Regions from separate parts of the Homo sapiens genome. Here all the other regions are linked to region 2. The links are contacts of gene promoters, found by promoter capture Hi-C in human tissues and cell types (Jung and others, 2019). All regions are on one chromosome and are shown on one strand. The core of a region is centred on a gene start or on the middle of the fragment in contact, and the rest is flanking DNA. Distances in the headings are between cores, read along the strand shown. Region 1 overlaps TRDN (triadin). Region 2 holds the start of CLVS2 (clavesin 2). Region 3 has its middle 180 kb from the start of CLVS2.

Evidence for each region. The method cuts DNA at HindIII sites, captures the fragments that hold promoters and counts their contacts. A contact is called where the count stands out against the background at its distance.
Region 1: a fragment that was not itself captured here is called in contact with the fragment with the promoter of CLVS2 in region 2 in 2 of the 25 tissues and cell types used here (H1 embryonic stem cells and mesendoderm cells).
Region 3: a fragment that was not itself captured here is called in contact with the fragment with the promoter of CLVS2 in region 2 in 2 of the 25 tissues and cell types used here (H1 embryonic stem cells and mesendoderm cells).

The regions. Positions count from the first base shown.
Region 1 is chr6:123,233,132-123,236,622 of GRCh38, reverse strand. The region is part of intron 38 of TRDN (triadin); the gene reads left to right. Among named protein-coding and RNA genes, the nearest start is that of TRDN-AS1, 200 kb to the left of the region's middle. The HindIII fragment of the contact is 4,369 bases long and covers 1-3,491 here.
Region 2 is chr6:122,994,230-122,997,510 of GRCh38, reverse strand. CLVS2 (clavesin 2) reads right to left here and starts at 1,276. Exons shown (of 6, transcript NM_001010852.4): 1 at 765-1,276; 2 at 1-292. It overlaps LOC124901392 (a long non-coding RNA gene), which reads left to right and starts at 2,591. Exons shown (of 2, transcript XR_007059733.1): 1 at 2,591-2,929; 2 at 3,025-3,281. The HindIII fragment of the contact is 5,962 bases long and covers 1-3,281 here.
Region 3 is chr6:123,176,807-123,180,350 of GRCh38, reverse strand. No RefSeq gene overlaps it. Among named protein-coding and RNA genes, the nearest start is that of CLVS2, 180 kb to the right of the region's middle. The HindIII fragment of the contact is 3,176 bases long and covers 229-3,404 here.

The sequences.
Region 1 (3,491 bases), core at 658-3,157, 240 kb before region 2:
CACATAGTGTGCAAAAATTAATCAAAAATAGATATCTCTAAATGTAAAACATGAAATTATCAAACTTTTAGGAGAAAACATCTTTGAGACCTAACATTAGACAAAGAGTTACAAGACATGACACCAAAAGGACTATTTGTAAAAGAAAAAATAATAAATTGTATACCATCTCAAAATTAAAAATGTGTGCTCTGTGGAAAAGACTACATATCCAACAAAGGCCTTGTGTTTTTTACAAATTGGGTGAAATAAAATGTTAGTTAAAATTAATTTTAAAAAGTAAACAAAAGATTTTAACACATAGTTCACCAAAGAGGATGTATGAATAGCAAATAAGAGCCAGAAAAGATATTTGACATTATTAGCTGTTAGAGAATTGCAAGCTAAGCCACCATTATATAACAGCACACATTTATTAGGATAAGTAACTTTTTAAAACATGGAAAAACAAAAACAAGTGCTGGCAAGCATTTGAAACAACCAGAACTTTCATACATTGCTGTCGGGAAGGCAAAATGGTACTGGCACTATAGAAAACTGAGAGTTGCTTATGTTGTGACCCAACCATCTCACTCCTGAAGGATGAGAGAAATAAAAATTTATGTTTGCCCAAAAATGTGAACATAAATGTTTATTGCAGCTATATTCACAATCGCCAAATCTGGAAATAACCCAAATGTCCTTCAACAGGCAAATGGATATAGAAGCTGTAGTACATCCACACAACAGAATATTTCTCAGGAATAAAAATTCATATGTGCAGCAGTTATATGAATTCAAATACGTTATTTCTTCTGAAGCTAAGCTCCAAAGGTTCCATACGGGAAGTTTTCATGCATATGAGATTCTTCCATTGGGTTACAGCTCAGTAGTTGCTCAAGGTTAGGGACAGAGGGGGAGTGTCACTATAAAGGAGGAGAACAAAGGTATTTTTTGGAGGTGATTTTGGTTGTAGTCACACACATCTATACGTGTCTTAAAATTCATATACATGTCTTAAAATTCATAGAAGTTTGCACTGAAAAACTCAATTTACTGTGTGATTATTTTAAAAAATAAACCTTAAAAAATAAAATTAATAACGTACAAAACTTGTGAAAGATAGCTTTTTGAGATTTCCTAGCTGGGTTGCTTTTTCTCACTTACCTGACCTTATCTTTTTCTTTGTCTTTACTGACCCTGTCTTGCTCAACTTTTATTCCACTCCCAGCAGTTCCTTACCATTTGTGGGAATCCATCCTGAAAGTGAGCCCTGGCTTGTCAGTTTCCCAAGGTCACAGGGTATCTGAAGGTTCCAGCACCTTCAGCTCTCAATGCTTACCTGCTATTGGACTTGACAAAGTCCCTCATAACTTTAGCTGATGATCTCATCAGTCTAACTTCCTTTGGGAAATACCTATTGGCTATCTGAGAGACTGATCCCCATCTCTCAGACTCCCCATGGTTTCCCTCTGCTTCCTCTTCCACAGACTTTGATTCCTTGTAGATTTTTGACTATTCATTTGTCTCAATATGTAGCTATCTTAGGGTTCATCTAATTGGTTATAAATATTGTTCATGGTTTTTGCTGTCTACCTATTCTATCCATTTTGGGGGGAGAAATATGAAGGAAATTTAAGATCTCTACTGCTATTATGTTCTCACAGTCCCCTAGGACAATTTTATCATTGTCCCACCCTCCCTGGCTTAACAAACGATCCTAGCCTCTACACCCCCATTTTGCTCCTTGCACACTTAATTACTGAATTTCAGTTTTAATATAAGCACTTGTCCTAATGTGACCCCACTTTTCATGTATCAGCAGGGTTAGTTTTTTATTTTAATTTCCCTGGGACAGAAGGGTCAATTCTATTTGAAGATTTCCTTTACTTCCTCTAAACCCAGTCCTTCAACAAAAGGTATTAGTTTTTGTTGCTGTGAATGAGCACTTTAGTGTATTCAGTCTATCATATTTTCAGAAGTATTAGTGTCCAATAGTTTTTAAGATTTTATCCACAAGTCTTATTTTAACCAAGATTATTGCCTTTCTTTTTCTAAATTAAAAAACAAGATATCTTACGTCCCAGTTCTAGACAATTGTGTAAAACTAATTATGTCATTAAAAATTTAGCGAGTGCTTCATCACAGAATCCTAAATTTAATCTTTATTAAAGCAAAACCATTCTCAACTAATACAGATATGTACAAACTGAAATAAAGTCTTCTTATAATGAATGGATGAAAGCTTATTTCTGGCTACACATGGGTGTATATATATTTAATATATGTGTGTTTATAAACATATATACACATACCTATACATAAATGCACACACATATATATGATATGAAAGTGATTGTTTTTATAAAATGACTTCTGTTTTGTTAGAGGTCACATGCTGAAATGGAATGGCAACATTACTGTAGTTTTTGCTAAACAAATTAGCACTAAATTCATAATAGACATATGTATACAGATGGTATCATAGGGTAGTAGTCGATACCAGGGAAACTAGCGTCAGAAGTACTGGTTCCCATCATGACTTAAAAAGCTGAATAACTTGGAAAAATTACTTAACATTTTTGTGCTTCAATAGCTTTATTTTTAAATTTTGAATAATAATATTCATCTCATAGAAATTTTGGGTAGATTAAGATAAAATAGTAGAGTGCATGAATAGGGATTGGTATATGATAAGTGATTATTAATTGGTAACTATAAGAATGAGGATGATGATGATTATGTAATGACAATGGGTTACTCCCCTAGCAAGGGACAGATTTCAATTATTAAACTTTTGTGTCAAAATGGATACAATTATTAAATAAAAAAATAAAGAGAAAACATCTGTCTCTTATTTTTGCTTGGATTTAAAACAATCTCACTTTTTAAAGCAAGGGTGATTAAATTCATGATGATTTTGTTTTAGGAGAAAAAATTGGCTGAAGTCTCCTTAATATGTGCCAGTGATCATACTCACCACTCTGATCACCCCTTTTGCTAAACTCCAGAGAAAGGTTGTGTATAAGGCGCATTTGGTGAAACGTTTGTCACTGTTCATTATTAGACTTTGGGTCCCAGCACTGTGGCCTCATTCATTTAAGGGTGATGTTAAGTTGTTCTGACATTGCCCTCAAGAGAGCCGTGTTTATCCTGGGAGTGATGGGACAGACACTAAGAAAGGGTCGCATACATTCATTGAACACTCCTGGCTTCACTGTGTGCTGCCTACAAAATCCCAAATGTGAAATTTCCCTGCATAGTTTATTATTCCCTAGAGTCAATTTTAAGAATCTTCAGTGAGTTCTCAGTGTAGCAGTTCATTTTCTTTAAAACTCGTTATTACTTTAAATAATAGCACATATTGAAGGAGCTTCTCACACCTGAGAGCTAAAATAAACTGGCTGTCAAATGTTGCTTTGAACTACCGTGGGTTTTTAAGATTTCTTAGGAAAATGTGAACTCTTAGAAAGTAATATTCTGTTAAACCGGTTACACACAATTTGGCCAGT
Region 2 (3,281 bases), core at 27-2,526:
TTAAAGAGATGTGAACCCCTGAAGGGCTCCGCACTCCTCTTCTTGTCCTTTCTCTTTCCTAACAAATCACCCCTAATTCCACCTAGCACGGGTGTTTCTGATCTTGGTACTGTCCTCTTCTCTTCTCTTCCAAGATGTAACAAAAACAACCCCCACGCACATCTCAGCCCCTGCACTGTGAATGTTCCTGCGGTCCCTGCTGAAGGATACGCCTGCCAGGGGTGGCGATGGAAATTCTGATTAATAATAAGGTAGCTCTTCAGCGCTGAGCTCCAGGGCGGAGAGAGATCATCTTTGCCAGAAAGAAAAAGAGACAGAGAGAAAGAGGGGGGAGAAAGGAGATTATTTCTCCCTGTACTTATTCAAAGACGCTATTTTTAAAAGACAAATTTGTGTGATTTATTTAAGATTATTGTGATCCAATTAGGTGAAGACTCTGCAGATAGCGCACCTTCCCACCACCCCTCTGAGATACACCGTGATCTCATAAGGCACCAGCAGGGGTTCTGGTGGCGTTGGTACCAGCGTGGGCTCCCCCAACCCCACCCCCAACTTCTGCCTTCCTCTAGCCCTTCATTTCCACGGACTTGCCGCGGGGTTGGAGAAAAGGGGGGAGGGGGAGGGAGGGGACCGGGGATATCTCTGGGAATGCACATTTCAAAAACGAAGAGAAGGGGAGGACGTTGTGAAGAATAAAATAAAAATGTCCTTATCTTTTCTATAAAACCCCAAAGCAAGAAAGAAGAAAGAGCAGCCGCTCCTACCAGCAAACCCAGAGGCGGGGTCGCTAAGCAATGCGGCACTCCCTGGCATCCATCAGCCGCGGCTTCAGCAGCGGCGGCGGCGGCGACAGCGGCATCAACTCCTCTGGGCGGGATGGAAGGAGCAGAGAAGAGGGGTGGCGGCGGGGACCCGGGCCGAAGATGCGCTCGGGAGCAGCCGCGGCCACATCGTCCGCGGGCAGCCCGCAGCCTCTCCTAGCAGGAGGGGTGAGGATCGCAGGGCTAGGGCCACCGCTGTCCCAGGTTCTCGCCTGGCCCTGCCATTTTCGCCTTCGGGAGAGAAGGTGGGGAGGAGGACGCGAACGCCTGGATGGAGAAGGCCACTCGGGCGGCCACCGCCTTTGTGAGCCCTCCGGGAGCAGCCGGGGAGGTGGGCGCAGCGGGGCGGCTGCTGCGCGGCGCTGGCCTCTCCTGGGGCTCTCCCGAGCGGTCCGAGTCAGGGTTGCCCCACCGGGCTGCGGCGGCGGCTCCGGCTGCTGCTGCTGAAAGAGGACTCGGCTCAGCCCAACTCCTCTCTAATTATCCCAGCACAGATCTCGCTGCGACGTAAGCACTCACTCAGCTCGCGCGCGCGCTCCGCTCCTTTCCCTGCCTCGTTGGGGTAGGACGGCAATTTGGGTGGCATCGAAATATCCCGAGCCCTAAGTTTAGGCTGCTCTTCGTCCCCACTCCTCAGCAGGCTGCTGAGCGGGCGTCGCCGGGCCAGGCGGGGCAACCATGCTTTCCAGCCTCCCCACGCCCCTCTCTTCGCCCTTTGTGTGCAAGACCCCAGATCAGCCTGGAGAGTAGCTGTTGTAGACGGTAATTCACATTGACACGCATTTTCTCGTTCCTGTAGGAGGCAATTTTGATGTAGAAGGAGTACGGAAACATTCTGTACTTTTCGCATTTGTTGTAGACAGAGATATTTAATTTAGAAAACACCAGAGTGGTTCCAAGACAATGTACTGATGATTAAGCCTCCGGAGGAACTTATATGAATAGTTTTTCAACCAGTCTCCCTGCTAAATTTCTGTTGAAGAGGATGAAAATGAGCACTAGGGTAAATGATAATAAAAACATAATTCTCAAAGGAAGAAAAAAATAGGAACTTCACTCATATCTCATCATAAAGCAAATATTTCTGGAAACACATACCATCCTTCCTTCAGTTGTATGCATCTGTATATGAGAATCATTATAAATAAACAGAAGTCCTTGCGCTTAATATGACTATCTATGGATTTGAGGAAAAGGGATATTTTCTATTTTCAAAACACAGCACATATTACTGAGCGTGTTACTAAGAGCAACTTTTGACTTTATAAACTGTAGAATGGGGTCTTGAATTGAAGTTAATTCAATGCAACTAATATTTACTGAGTTCCACGAGGTGTGGGGCATTTTTCTGCATTCTGTGTATAGGAGGTGGTCTTGAAGATAAGCAAATTTTGTCATTTTCTTATCTTGACATTTCTTATCTTGTCATTTTCAATGTTGATGACTATGAGAACCCTCAAAATACAGGCACACTTGTTTTTGCTCTTCTCATGGCGATGGTGTTGATAAAAAGAAAGAAGGAAAAGGGTTGTATGGTAGAGCTAGAGCATTTATTAATTAAATTAATGCAAATTAATGTAGGAACCCGAATAAGACAATAAATTACACACACACACACACACACACACACAGTCATTATTGTCAAGGAATTTATGTTTTAAATGGGGAAGGCAGAAAATAAACCACTTAAGTGTGTGTATATGTGTGTTATATATATGCACTATATATAAGGTCCTTCTAGGATTTTAAGTGATTATGACTTTCTCAAGCATGCTGAATGCAATGTGAACTGTTAAATTTTTGGTTCTCATTTTAAAACATTTGAAAAAATCATTTTTTCTAATATTTTAGAGGTTGAAGAAAATTTATGTTTCGTATCAACTGTATGAAGAAGTTTTAGTCATCACCAACATGGAGAGACAATTCTCCCTGGATCCGTTGTGTTTCTACCTGTCTTATGACCAAGGCACTAATTGCCCTTTTTTCTAGACTGTCTTCTCAAGGGTATTTGTACAGTAAATAGTCTTGGAAGATATTGGAAGATAGAGATAGTACCTCCATCTGAAACAAAGCCTTGAAAGCTGTGATATCTCTCTCCTGACCAAAAGGTAGGCAAGCTTATTTGAATTCCCTAAACTCAGAGCTATTCTGCTGTAATGCCACCCATTGTTTATGCCAGTATCACTTGATCCTCTTTTCTTAGCTATCTGTGGGAATTAGAGCTCAGGGGACCAGTCAATGCAAGATATGCAGATGCTCATACTGCCCGCTATGCCTGAGTGACAAAATCCTTTATCTCGAAGCCAAGAGTTTTGCATCTTCCATCGGCATCCATGAAACTACAGCCAGCTAACTTGTTAGCCTGTAAGTGAAGTTAAAATTCAGATCTTTCACCTTGATGAAAAAACAGTTGTTTAATTTTGTTCTCTGAGATGGACATATTAGACTATATTTTTAAGG
Region 3 (3,544 bases), core at 567-3,066, 180 kb before region 2:
CAACAATGTCAGTCACACTAGGCAATCCATATGTTGCCATTTTTTCCTGGACATGACCTACCTGGAGACATCTACTCTCCTATCTGCTGCCCAGTTGCCATCTTGAGACATCCTTAGATTTATCTTGGAATTCTCTCTGCTTTTCCTCTAGGCTGGATTCCCTGGATTATTTATCTCTTGTTTTTTTTTCTTTCTTCATTTATTCTCCAATTTTGCTGAAATATATGCCCCAATAATTTTGTCAGATCATAAAATGCTATCACAGAAAAAGGCCTTCTGATGGTAGCCTCAGTGTACATGCCCTTTGAGTCAGACTGCCCCAAGTTGAACTGTTTGCCCTCCATGTCTGATACATAGGTTATCACCCTGAGCTTTCCTTTTGTGTTATTCTAGGGATTTGATTTGACACTCTGCTTTTTCAGTTCTCTGGTTCTTGTATTTTGGGGCCCACTTTCTCTTAGTTTATTGCCTTATTTTGTTGCAGTATATCTCCTGGCACCTCCATTGGCAAAGGGTGCATGAGAGATATTCCTTGAAACTTGTATGTCTGAAAATATTTTGGGGAGAAAGTGCTCAACACCAGTATCTTTAAGTATTTCCTCCAGAGATGTGAATTTTTCCTGAGATTTATCCTTTGTGTGAAGTATAAAGTTTTGGCTGCCAGCATTCTGGGAGTTGAGAAGAGGAGAGAGAACCAAGATGCAGCACTGAGTATGTATGAGGTCATTTGATGGCCCTATTTTCATTAAGAAACCAGTGGCTTTTACTGTTTCTATAGATCTCCAGGACAAAGACTTTATCCTCTGTTTAGGAAATAACATTTTGTAACTCTGCTAGTGTAGGAGGGAAGAACTCATCCGGAGGTGAAAAGTCTGGGAGGGATTCAGGACTCTCACACAAATATCCTTTACCTACATCATCTTTATATTAGTGTCCTGCCTGCCCCAATTTTCAGAGATATTTGGGATTGGTATTTTCTGAGCTTTTTGACAATTATTCAGGAAAAAAATATATATTGGTTTGAGCTTTCCCCTCTGCTTACCTAGCAGAAAAGAATGGAACTGTCTTCTCCATTTTGTTAATTCAGCTTTTCCTCTTTTATTAGCTTTCTAGCTTCTAAGATTGTATTTGCTTTCTAGCTTCTAAGATTCTATTTGCTTTCTAGCTTCTAAGATTCTATTGTTTGTCCTCCTCTCTTTCTATCTGTGGCTTAACATATTCCACAAAACGTCTTTAAAAGATTTGTTATAATTTAGTGGGGCTGTGGGACCCAAATTAGATGTGTGTGATCAGTGTGCTCATAACTTACAATATCAACTTGCTCTTAATTTCTATATTTTAAAAACTTGAATTAATGACATTGACATATTCCAGCTACCTTTGGTAAAAACTATTATGTTTATGGCTATGTTTATACACTGAGAAATATCTAGGAGAAAAGTAATACTCATGCTTTTTTCATAATGCTATATGGCCTATGTAATGTCAAAACAACTGGATGACTAACAACATTTTATTTTTTGTCTAGATATTTTGATCTAAACTAAATGGCAGGCTTTGTCTGAGAGCTCTCCAACCTTCACGAAACACATGAAATGTTATCAGCTTCTAATACTTCTTTCTTCCCATCCCCCAGGACCCTGGTGTTTTCATCTCTCTACCATTAAATTTTTAAACCTTTATTTATAGAAATAAATTACTGATAACAGATTAATGTGCTACTTTAGCCATTTCCATTTCCATTTGAAATAAACATGAAAGCATTAAAAAAACTTATTAAGCATTAATGGCAGCTAGTTGTAGGTATTTAAAGTTTTCTTTCTGCCTTTTTAATCATGTCACATACATCAGTCTTAATGACTGAAGATGTCTCTGTAAATATTATAGAAAGTTTACGTTATGAAGGATAACTCTATCTTTGAGTGGTATGCTGCTCTTCGGGTCTTTGAAGAATATAGATAGTTTCGAAGAGCTCCCAATACAAAAATTTCCAGAAAGCTTAGAAGAGGGGTTTGAGGTCAGATACTATGGTTTTCTTTAGTGAAGAGCTGAGTCTGATACATAGCAAGGCTCTATTTTTCACCCATTAAACTAAAAAACATCCATGGAAACTTATTTATGGATAAGACGGTTTGTCTTTGAATGATCCAGAAAACATTGCCTATAAGTTGAAAATAATTCAAAAGACAATTTGAAATCATTAGTATTATCTTTTACTTTCACTAAACATACCAAGATTGTTGGGAATGCCAACATTCTACCAACAACCAAGTTGACTCTTTTTCCGTCACCCATCTAGAACCCATTTAAGTTGTCATCCAGTCTCTCTAGGCTAATATGTAAAGTCTAAGCTGAAATTGTATTGATTTGGCACAGCTTTCACCTTCTGCTTATAATCATGTTTGTCCTTTAATCTAATTATAGTCATTTTTGTCTTATATTTCTTATTTCAGTTATTAACTTCCTTTGAAGTTACTTGGAACTTACTGAAATATGTTGTTTTTACATTATCTAGCAAACTGCATCATGTACTTTAATGTATATACCAAAAATATAGTCAAAAGAAATGAGATTGCAGTTGTAAAGTTTCAAAAGTTTTCAAAATTCAGGGCAAACACCGTATGCTCTCTCTCTCTCATAGTTTAATTATAGAATTCCATCCATAATAATTCTGAATAAGTCATACCATTTATTTTTCCTGTTCTCATTCATTTTAGAGAAAGATTGTTCTATTAACATTGACCTGTGCCCCATTTGTCATCTGTTTTGCAATCTATTCAATTCCAGTTATATCAAAGGGATTTGCAGGCCTAATAAAGAAGACCCAGAGAGCATTTCATCTCTCAAAAGAAGAAGCCATAACCTCAGTACAGTAGAAATGTTCACACATTACAAAAACAATATATCCATTGAAAAATATGTTCTCCAAGAAATATAAAAGGGTGTAGAGGTGAGCGAAATGCAAATATCTCATTTGTACTCTTTCTTCTTTTTCTTCAGAAGAAAAAGGTTTAACAGTCTTTTATGTGGGAGAAAGTTATCATGATTCTTAAAGAGGTTAGAAACATCACTTCATAAACAGCACCTGATAATATAATAGTGACTGTCGAAGTGGATTTCTCTACACATCCTGCAAGTAAGCCAAACACATAAACAAGGAGAATAAATTAAATAAGCTTAATTTTCACATAGGGAATAACCAGGAGACAAAGGCCCAAAGTAACATTTTGCATAATTTGAGAAATACATACCAGAATGTAGTAGAGCCAATTTCATGACCACATCAGAGTAGAGTGAGGCTAATATTATGGAGAATAAAAAAGGGGAGAGGGTCAGAGAGGTGACGGAACATAAATCAGTCACCCCAGAGAGAGAAAGTTCCACCCTAAAAGCTGATCTATTGAGAACACACATGATAGAGCAGAGTGTCAGCTACTGGAGAGTTGAAAGGAAGTGATTAAAATTGGGACTAGATATGACACCACTTAAGAAGGCACTGCCTCTGGGGGAAAGTGGTGTGAGTTAGAAAAGGAAGGCATCACTT